Regions from separate parts of the Homo sapiens genome. Here regions 2 and 3 are each linked to region 1. Evidence: promoter capture Hi-C in human tissues and cell types (Jung and others, 2019). All regions are on one chromosome and are shown on one strand. The core of a region is centred on a gene start or on the middle of the fragment in contact, and the rest is flanking DNA. Distances in the headings are between cores, read along the strand shown.

Region 1 (2,720 bases), core at 208-2,707:
AAACCAGGTGGTAAGAGATAACCTCTCACAACAGAATCTTTATCTGTGAAATAAGGATTCGACCAACAGAACCGTCTGTTGAAAATTTCCTCTCTTGGTCCAGGCAGGTTCTCTAAACTCCCAATCCCAAAGCAGTTAATTTTTTCACGTTTCCTGTAAAATGGATGGCCTTAAAACTCTTTTGTTCTCTAGTGTAGCTTTCCAGAAGGAAATAAGTTTCCTTATCAAGAATGAATCTAGCTTCCCCGACTCAAAAACAACCATCTTCTCTATATTGCTCCATATCACAATAAATTTAAGTGCCTTCCTTTTCTAAATTAAATGCTGTTCCCTTCAACTTAAGGGCCACACACTAAGGGCTATTCCTTTAGAGGCTTTTGGGCCCCACAGATCACAAAGGTGGTGCCCTGCCCTAGTTCTTTCTGGACATTTAAAAGGACATCCACTTTCTTGCCCTCAGGATAACATTATGGGAACAATGAACATAAATAAGACAGTTAAATAAGCTTCCCTGATGCCTATCCAATACAGCTTTCAACTCTTCTATCCTGCCTTGTTCTTTAGATCGTGCTGTAGTCTGGAGGGTAAACTCTTCACACAACCATTCCCAAGCCCTCATGTCCCTGTCCACTCTTCCTCCCTCACCTTTTAAGTGTGATAGGGCCTTGATGGGAAGACCTCACTTCACCTTTTGTCTCAAGTCCATCTGCTTCCTTCCAGAGCTACAAATACAAAGGTAGGCCAGGGCCATTGAGACGTGGCCATAGGGCACATGGGAGCTGGCAGAGCCACTCGCACCTTCTGGGGTGTCCCTTCTTCCACCTGTCAACTGAACACCCGTTTCTTAAAGATTTATCCCCAAAAGTCCCATCTCATTCTGAAAGGGGACGAACCAGCTACCCCACGAGCCCTTTGTCTGAGCTTCTACACCTCACACATCCTCATCCACAAAGCGTCCATCCTCACACAGTCAGGTGGTCCGCTCGGCACAGGGCGGGGGAGACTAGGTTTTTGCATCTGGTAAAAGGATGGGTTATGTCTCAGGTTCTTCCAGGATCCCAAATCCTATAATTCTACCACCAAGCCTGCGGGTCCTATTTCTGCGGTGGAAAGGGCGAATCCCAAGGCGACCCTCCACTCCACGCGCCTGCAGGCAGTTGGAACAAGCCCCCTCCAACCCCGGCTCTGCGGGTCCACGCCTCCAACCTCCGGCGCCGGGCCGCGGAGAAGGCCCTGTCGGCGCCCGCTCCCGGCCGCGCCATGCCCTCTTTCGCCCTCACCCGCCACCGGTGGCCGCCTCTCACCTGGCACGCTGGCATCGCCCACTCCGCGCTGCACTGGAAACCATGGGTCCGACGGGGTCTCGGGGGCCACCCATCCGCCTTAAGGAAGGCTGGCGGGGATGCGCGGGCCCGGGAGTCCAGGGCGCCGCCACCGGGAACGCGCCGCCTGGTTTCTAAGGAACTGGGGGCTCTGGAAAGGGAGGGGCGGGACGGCAGGAGGACTGCGCATGCTCCATAACGGGGATGGGCCTGCGCTGGGAGGGGCCGTAGCCGGGAGCTGCGCATGCTCGCTTTTTGGGGGCGGAGCTTAAGCAGCCTGGCTAGGAGGCTCAGGTTATTCATTTCCGGCGGCGGAGGCGGCAGTTTCCTAAGCTTGGCTTCTCTCCGGTCCGCTGACCGGCGTCAGGGACCAGGTTTTGGTAGCTGTGGGTAGCCTCAGTTGTCCTGGAATGAAAGACGGTTTCGTGTTGGACAAGGACATATCTGCAGAAGGCCAGTTCTCTCGAACTCGTCGGACTTCCTGGCTCCCTGACCCCCAGTGACTCGTTTTTCCGTTTTCTCAGGTGCCTGTCTGGGCTCCTCTTCCTCTGGATGTTTTTTGATTGTTCCTTAAATATCAGTGCTCTTCAAGACTGTAACCTCAGTCCCCTTGGCCTCTTTACTGAAGCCTATGCCCCACCAAATAGCAAACTATCCGCTAGAGTAAGGAAGCCGTTAGACCTTAGAATAAAACTGCCTGTGTAGGAAATGTGATTGGGGTTTGTATCTGCATGGGGAGCCCCCGTCCCTGCTTGTCTGACCCTCCTGCTGAGTATCAAGATCCCCACTCAGCTGGCATTAGGATGATCTCCCAGCCATCATTCCAGAGCAGCCTGTGGTGACAGAATATGTCAGCTGACCTAAGCGTGAGGCAGTTCCTACTGAGATATGCTAACTAGCAGCAGAGCTATCCCTGCTTTGAGCGGAGACAGGACTCCTACCACCTCTGTGAGGAGCATGGAAGGCTTCCAAAGTGATGAGAAGTTGTAACCCCTAAACCCCCCCTCTTCTGATGGGATTTTATCCTTTCTCTCCTGGATCCTCTAGAGCCAGGCAGAAGGAAGGCAGAGTCAAAATGTGCCTGTTTGATCTGTTTCTTAGTCATTGTTCGGAGTTCCACTCTTCTTGAGTAGGATTTCTCAACAGTGGCACTATTGACATTTTGGACCTGATAATTCTTTGTTGGGCAGGGGTGGGGGGAGCTGTCTGCATTGTAGGATGTTTGGCAGCATCCCTGGCTCTACCCAGTAGATGCCAGTAGCACCCCAAGCCCAGTTGTGACTACCAAAAATATCTCCAGACATTGCCAAGTGTCTCCCTGGGAGCAAAATCATTCCCAGTTGAGAACCACTAGTCTAGGGGGAAATGAGCCTACTCTGGCTTTACTTATATAGAACC
Region 2 (2,700 bases), core at 89-2,588, 590 kb after region 1:
AAATGTAATATAAAGAAAAGCACTGGATTAAATGTGAGAAAACTTGCATTCTAGACCTAAATCTACCTCAAACTTGATATGCTATCCAGGACTATTCCTTTAACCTCTCTTTGATCAATTTTCCTACCTGCTCTATCTCTATTTTGCTCCAGTGATCCCCATCTCAGTCAGGGTGAAAGGCAATGTCCTTGCAAGTACCTAGCAGGCATCCTCCCCTCAAATTCCTTACTGCTCTCCTCTAGCTCACCGGGCTCCAGGCACCTTGCAAGGAGCAAAGAAACGGCTTAAGGGCCTCTTTACTTTCAGGTTCTCTGCCTAGAAGTCCTCTCGATATGTGGAATACCCTGCCATTCACCTTCTGCAAGTCTTCACTCAAATGTCATTTCCTCAGTGACACTCTCACTGAAGTGGCACCACTCTTCCTGCTTTGTCTCCCCGCCTCCTTACATCCCTTATCATCATCTGACACTGAATAGACTTGTTTACTGTTTCTGTCTACCTGCATGTTAGGTCCTCACTGCTGTATCCACAGAATCTAAAAAAATACCTGGCATATCGTAGGCACGTAGTAAACACATGTTGGATGAACAACCAAATCTGTAAAATGAGGCCGTCACGCCGGATGGATCATCCATCCCCTTAAGATGAAACTGTGCTGCGACTGGGCCCAGTCTTCTTGCATTACCATCCTGAGAAGCCCAGCGACCACCTTCAGGGGCATACTCACTTTGCAGGAGCCTGCAGAGGCGGCTTCAGGTTCTCCCTCCTCGTGGACAAGGTCTAACAACTGAAAGCCCGAGTTCCCGGCGGCTTCTGGGTTCCCCGGCGTGTACTCGGACTCCTGGCCGCTCGAGGTGGTCCCCAAGGATCGGCGGCTGGAAAGCACCCGGTAGCGGCCCTCCTGCCGGACCTCCCGAGCCGAGGCGCGGAGATTACGGCGGACACGCTGCTGGCTGTCCCGTGACGGGCGCAGAACTTCCCGCAGGAGAGGCTGGACTGGTTCCTCCTAGGGGGCAACAGGGGACGGAGGCCAGCGTAAGCAGGAGTTCGCGAGCGGGTCAGGGATCGGGTTTCGTACCGGCTGCACCCGAAGATGCCCTCCACACCAGCTGCACCACGCCCAATACCTGGGAGCACACAGTGGCCACCAAGTGGAAGACATTATTCTCCGCCGCTCTCTCCAAACCCTCCGACGTCTTCTGTGCCGCTGACTCGACCGCGTCGCTCCGGAGGCGTTTACAAGCGAGCACAAGAGCCTCCGCCGGCTCCGCACTGCGCTTCCGCTTCACCCGGAGTACAGCGGTCCTGGCGGCCTCCATAGTGGCTGCCGCTGAGCACTGTGGGAGCTCGCGGGGTGTGATGGGATAGCTTTCCAGTTCTGCTTTAGGACCCGCCCCCCAGCACGCTCCTCGACGCTGCGAGGTCCCGCCCCGCGTGCTGGCCGCGGTAAAAGTGGTAGCAGCGGAGGCGAGCGGAGGGTTTCCCGCGGCGGGTGAGGCGCTGGGTATGCTGGGAAGGTGGGGTCGCTTTGGGGTTCTGTGTGCAGCGAGCATGGTGTCCTTGGCACCAGGGTTTCGGCAGAGGAGCCTAGCGTGGGCCTACTTGGACTCCTCCGCGTGGGGCAGCTCGGGACACCCGGGCCTGCAGGAGAGCGGGGTTCTAGGCTGGCCCCGGCTCTGCAGTGCAGCCGGGTGCCTGCCACTCGCGGGGCTCTGTCGCAGTACTCGTGCCTGGCGCCTCCCCTCAGCCACAGAGACCGCAGTAGCTCCAACCATCGCACCCCTAACTGGGCCACGAGTTCTCTGATTGCCAGACCTGTTGTCTTTGCCACTCACTGTTCTGAGTAATTGGAGAGTCGTGTATTCACTACACGCCAACCAGAGTGGTCCTGTAAAAGCGTAAGCCTAGTGTAGATACGCTTCTGCTTAAAACTCTTGAGTGGCTCCCAGTGCTTTTAGAACAAAATCCAAACGCCTTTCCGAAGTCGACAAGGCCCAGCTTGATTGAGCAGAAGATGTGATAGGAGATGAGGAGCGGGGGGCTTCTGCAAAAGTGCTTCGGTCGCTCAGGCTTTTGGCACATTTTGCTTATGCAACCTAGTTCTTTCTACCTTAGGGCCTTTTCTTGGGAAAGTTGGGGTAAGGATTCCTGACCTGTAAAAACTCTTCCCCAACTTTTATCCCGGTCTGTCTTGTAGATCTCAAATGCTAGTTTCCTCAGAGTCCTTCTGTAACCTTGGTTTTCTCTTTCTACAACGCTCTGTGTATTTCTTGCATTCATGTAGTCTGTAATTTGTATTACTCTCTCATTAGAGTCTAAGCTCTTGGAGGGCAAGGGTCTTCTCTAGCTTGTGGTGGTGGCTCCAGTCCCTAATATAGTGCCTGGCACATAGAAGGTATTTAATAAATTTTGTTATTTTATTTTTTCGAGACAGAGTCTCACTCTGCTGCCTAGGCTGAGTGCAGTGGTGTGATCGAGGCGCACTGCAGCCTTGACCTCCTGGGCTCAAGCGATCCTCACCTCGGCCTACCGAGTAGCTGGGACTACAGGCACGCGCCACTACACTCGGGTAATTTTTAATTTTAATATATGTATATTTATATATATATATATATATATATATTTTTTTTTTTAAGACAGGGTCTCACTCTGTCACCCAGGCTGGAGTTCAGTGGCGCCATCTCTGCTCACTGCAACCTC
Region 3 (2,916 bases), core at 171-2,670, 620 kb before region 1:
GACTACTTTAAATATAGGTATCACAAGGTATACAAATCCCCCAGTGTATATTATGGTTTTCAAGAAATCTGGCTTGATTTACCCATCCTGTGAGATATGACCATAAAGTAGTGATGTTGGGAGAAAGAATTTTAAATTACACATCCAAATTAGTTCCATCTTTCAAGCTAGTTGTTTTGGAAATATACAGCCGTTTTGATTGTGCTGGTGTTATATCAAACATTCTTAAGACTCCTGGCATTTTCCTACAACAGAAAAGTAAGCCCTTTTCCTTGAAAGTATGCCTTAAGCTTGACACATGATAAACAGATTCACTCATTAACCACAAGACTTACTGCAAATGACAAAAATGCCTTTAAATTCTGAATTGACACCATTAAGGGAAATTCCAAAGAGTAGGATTCATGCTCTGAGAGTTAATTTCAAAAAATTGAGCAGTAACAGCATGGTTTTAGTAAGTATATCACTTCTAGAAACATAATTGGATATGCTAGCTCGGGGCTGCTTGGTGAAAAATATCTTACTTGATTTATGCCTCATTTGGCAATGAGGAGCTTTTCAATCTATAAACCATTGTATTATCCATAACACATTACCCCAAAACTTAGCAGCTTAAAACAATAAATACGTATTATCCCACAGGTGAGTCACAAATCTGGAAGTAGCTAAGATCAATGGTTCTGGTTCAGAGTTCCTCATAAGGTTAGAGTCATCCTGGGCTACAGTCATCTCAAGGATTGACTGGATGAAAGATCCCCTTTCAAACCCACTAATGTGGTCACTGACTGGCCTCGGTTCTTTGCAGCTTGCTAGATGAAAGGCAGATGTTCCTTGCTAGATGTTGGACAGAGACCTGCTTCCATTTCATGCCCAGCTGGGTCTTTCCATAGGACAGTGCACAGCAGGGTAGCTGGCTTCCCCCAAGGCAAGTGATCCAAGAGAGCGCACACCCAAGTTGAAAGCACAGTCTTTTTTTTTTTTTTTTTTTTTTTTTTTTTGAGATGGAGTCTCGCTCTGTTGCCTAGACTGACTGGACTGCAGTGCTGCAATCTCAGCTCACTGCAACCTCCCCCTCCCGGGTTCAAGCGATTCTCCTGCCTCAGCCTCCCACGTAGCTGGGATTACAGGTGCCCATCAACATGCCCGGCTAATTTTTGTATTTTTCATAGAGACGGGGTTTCACCATGTTGGCCAGGCTGGTCTCAAATTCCTGACCTCAAGTGATTCGTCCGCCTCGGCATCCCAAAGTGCTGAGATTACAGGTGTGAGCCACCATGCCCAGCCAAAAGCACAGTCTTAGAACTGAATCTTGGGCTGCCATATTGTATGTTAGAATCAAGTCACTGGGTCTGGTCCACACTCAAAGGGGGAGGAATATTAAGCTTCATCTGTTGAAGGCGGGGATGTCAAAGCATTTGTGGACATCTTTCTAAACCACCATGGTGATATTACCAAATATACGTAACTGAGTATAAGATACCTTTGGTGTTTTGCCGGGCGCGGTGGCTCACACCTGTAATCCCAGCACTTTGGGAGGCCGAGGCAGGCAGATCATGAGGTCAGGAGATCGAGACCATCCTGGTTAACGGTGAAACCCCGTCTCTACTAAAAATACAAAAAATTAGACGGGTGTGGTGGCGGGCGCCTGTAGTCCCAGCTACTCGGGAGGCTGAGGCAGGAGAATGGTGCGAACCCAGGAGGTGGAGCTTGCAGTGAGCCAAGATCGCACCACTGCACTCCAGCCTGGGCAACAGGGCGAGACTCCATCTCAAAAAAAAAAGATACCTTTGGTGTTTTAATCTAAACATTCTTTAAAGGTAAGATTTCAGTCTTGCAGATTTGAATACATGATTCCCCCTAGATAGCATCAACCCCTTTTCTTGCATCACCATCATATATTCATATATGGCATTTCAGAAATGTTCCAAAGCTAAAAAATGACAGTCACAGGGTGAAATCATGGATGGAAATGGCAGTTTAGTTTGTTTAAATATGGAATATTCTGAAACAGATAAGTCACTGTTTTAGTCAACTCCCAGCTTTTGGTTAGAAAATTTAAGCAACTTAGAATTAAGGTCGTTATTGGCCTCATTCAGATTTCAGAAATGTTGAGGAGATGTTGTAGATAAAAATAAAAGGCCAGGCACAGTAGCTCATATCTGTAATCCCAGCACTTTGGGGGGCTGAGGCAGGAGGATTGCTTGAGGCCAGGAGCTCAAGACCAGCCTGGGCAAGATAGCAAGACCTTCATCTGCACAAAAATATTTTTCTTAATTAGCCAGGCATGGTGGTGCACACCTCTAAGTCCCAGCTACTTGGGAGGCTGGAGTGGGAAGATCGCATGAGCCGAGGATTTTGAGGTTGCAGTGAGCTATGATCTTGCCACCGCACTCCATCCTGGGCCACCAGAGCAAGATATTACCTATAAAAATAAAAATGGAAAATGTTGAAGTTCTATTTTTTTTTTGGAGACTAAAAGTATGGTTATCATTTAGGGGGGGAAATATCCAGTGTCCAAAATAAACATGTTCCCTGCTCACAAGGAATCTACAGTCTAGCTAAAAAGCTGACCAAAGGCAGTAACACTGTTTAAGTTACATTAGAAGTACTGGCTCTTATAGTACATCTATTCTAGTCTGGGTGGTGAATAAAAGCTTCCCTAAAGAGATGTTTTGAGGGTGGGTGCGGTGGCTCACGCCTGTAATCCCAGCACTTTGGGAGGCCGAGGCGGGTGGATCACAAGGTCAGGAGATCAAGACCATCCTGGCTAACATGGTGAAACCCCGTCTCTACTAAAAAATACAAAAAATTAGCTGGGCGTGGTGGCGGGCGCCTGTAGTCCCAGCTACTTGGGAGGCTGAGGCAAGAGAATGGCATGCACCCAGCAGGCGGAGCTTGCAGCGAGCCGAGATTGCA

The links. Contacts are between HindIII fragments. The study calls those that stand out against the background at their distance.
Region 2: a contact is called between the fragment with the promoter of SLC7A6OS here and the fragment with the promoter of GFOD2 in region 1, in 2 of the 25 tissues and cell types used here (heart right ventricle and spleen).
Region 3: a fragment that was not itself captured here is called in contact with the fragment with the promoter of GFOD2 in region 1 in 1 of the 25 tissues and cell types used here (bladder).

What each region holds. Positions count from the first base shown.
Region 1 is chr16:67,717,859-67,720,578 of GRCh38, forward strand. It overlaps GFOD2 (Gfo/Idh/MocA-like oxidoreductase domain containing 2), which reads right to left and starts at 1,458. Exons shown (of 3, transcript NM_030819.4): 1 at 1,305-1,458. RefSeq lists an enhancer at 776-855 and silencers at 1,216-1,265, 1,326-1,375. The HindIII fragment of the contact is 6,116 bases long and covers 1-2,720 here.
Region 2 is chr16:68,309,608-68,312,307 of GRCh38, forward strand. It overlaps SLC7A6OS (solute carrier family 7 member 6 opposite strand), which reads right to left and starts at 1,339. Exons shown (of 5, transcript NM_032178.3): 1 at 1,128-1,339; 2 at 728-1,006. The coding sequence starts at 1,319. PRMT7 (protein arginine methyltransferase 7) reads left to right here and starts at 1,412. Exons shown (of 19, transcript NM_019023.5): 1 at 1,412-1,492; 2 at 2,435-2,569. RefSeq lists an enhancer at 344-1,308. The HindIII fragment of the contact is 13,375 bases long and covers 1-2,700 here.
Region 3 is chr16:67,101,151-67,104,066 of GRCh38, forward strand. No RefSeq gene overlaps it. Among named protein-coding and RNA genes, the nearest start is that of PHAF1, 7.3 kb to the right of the region's middle. The HindIII fragment of the contact is 4,683 bases long and covers 1-2,916 here.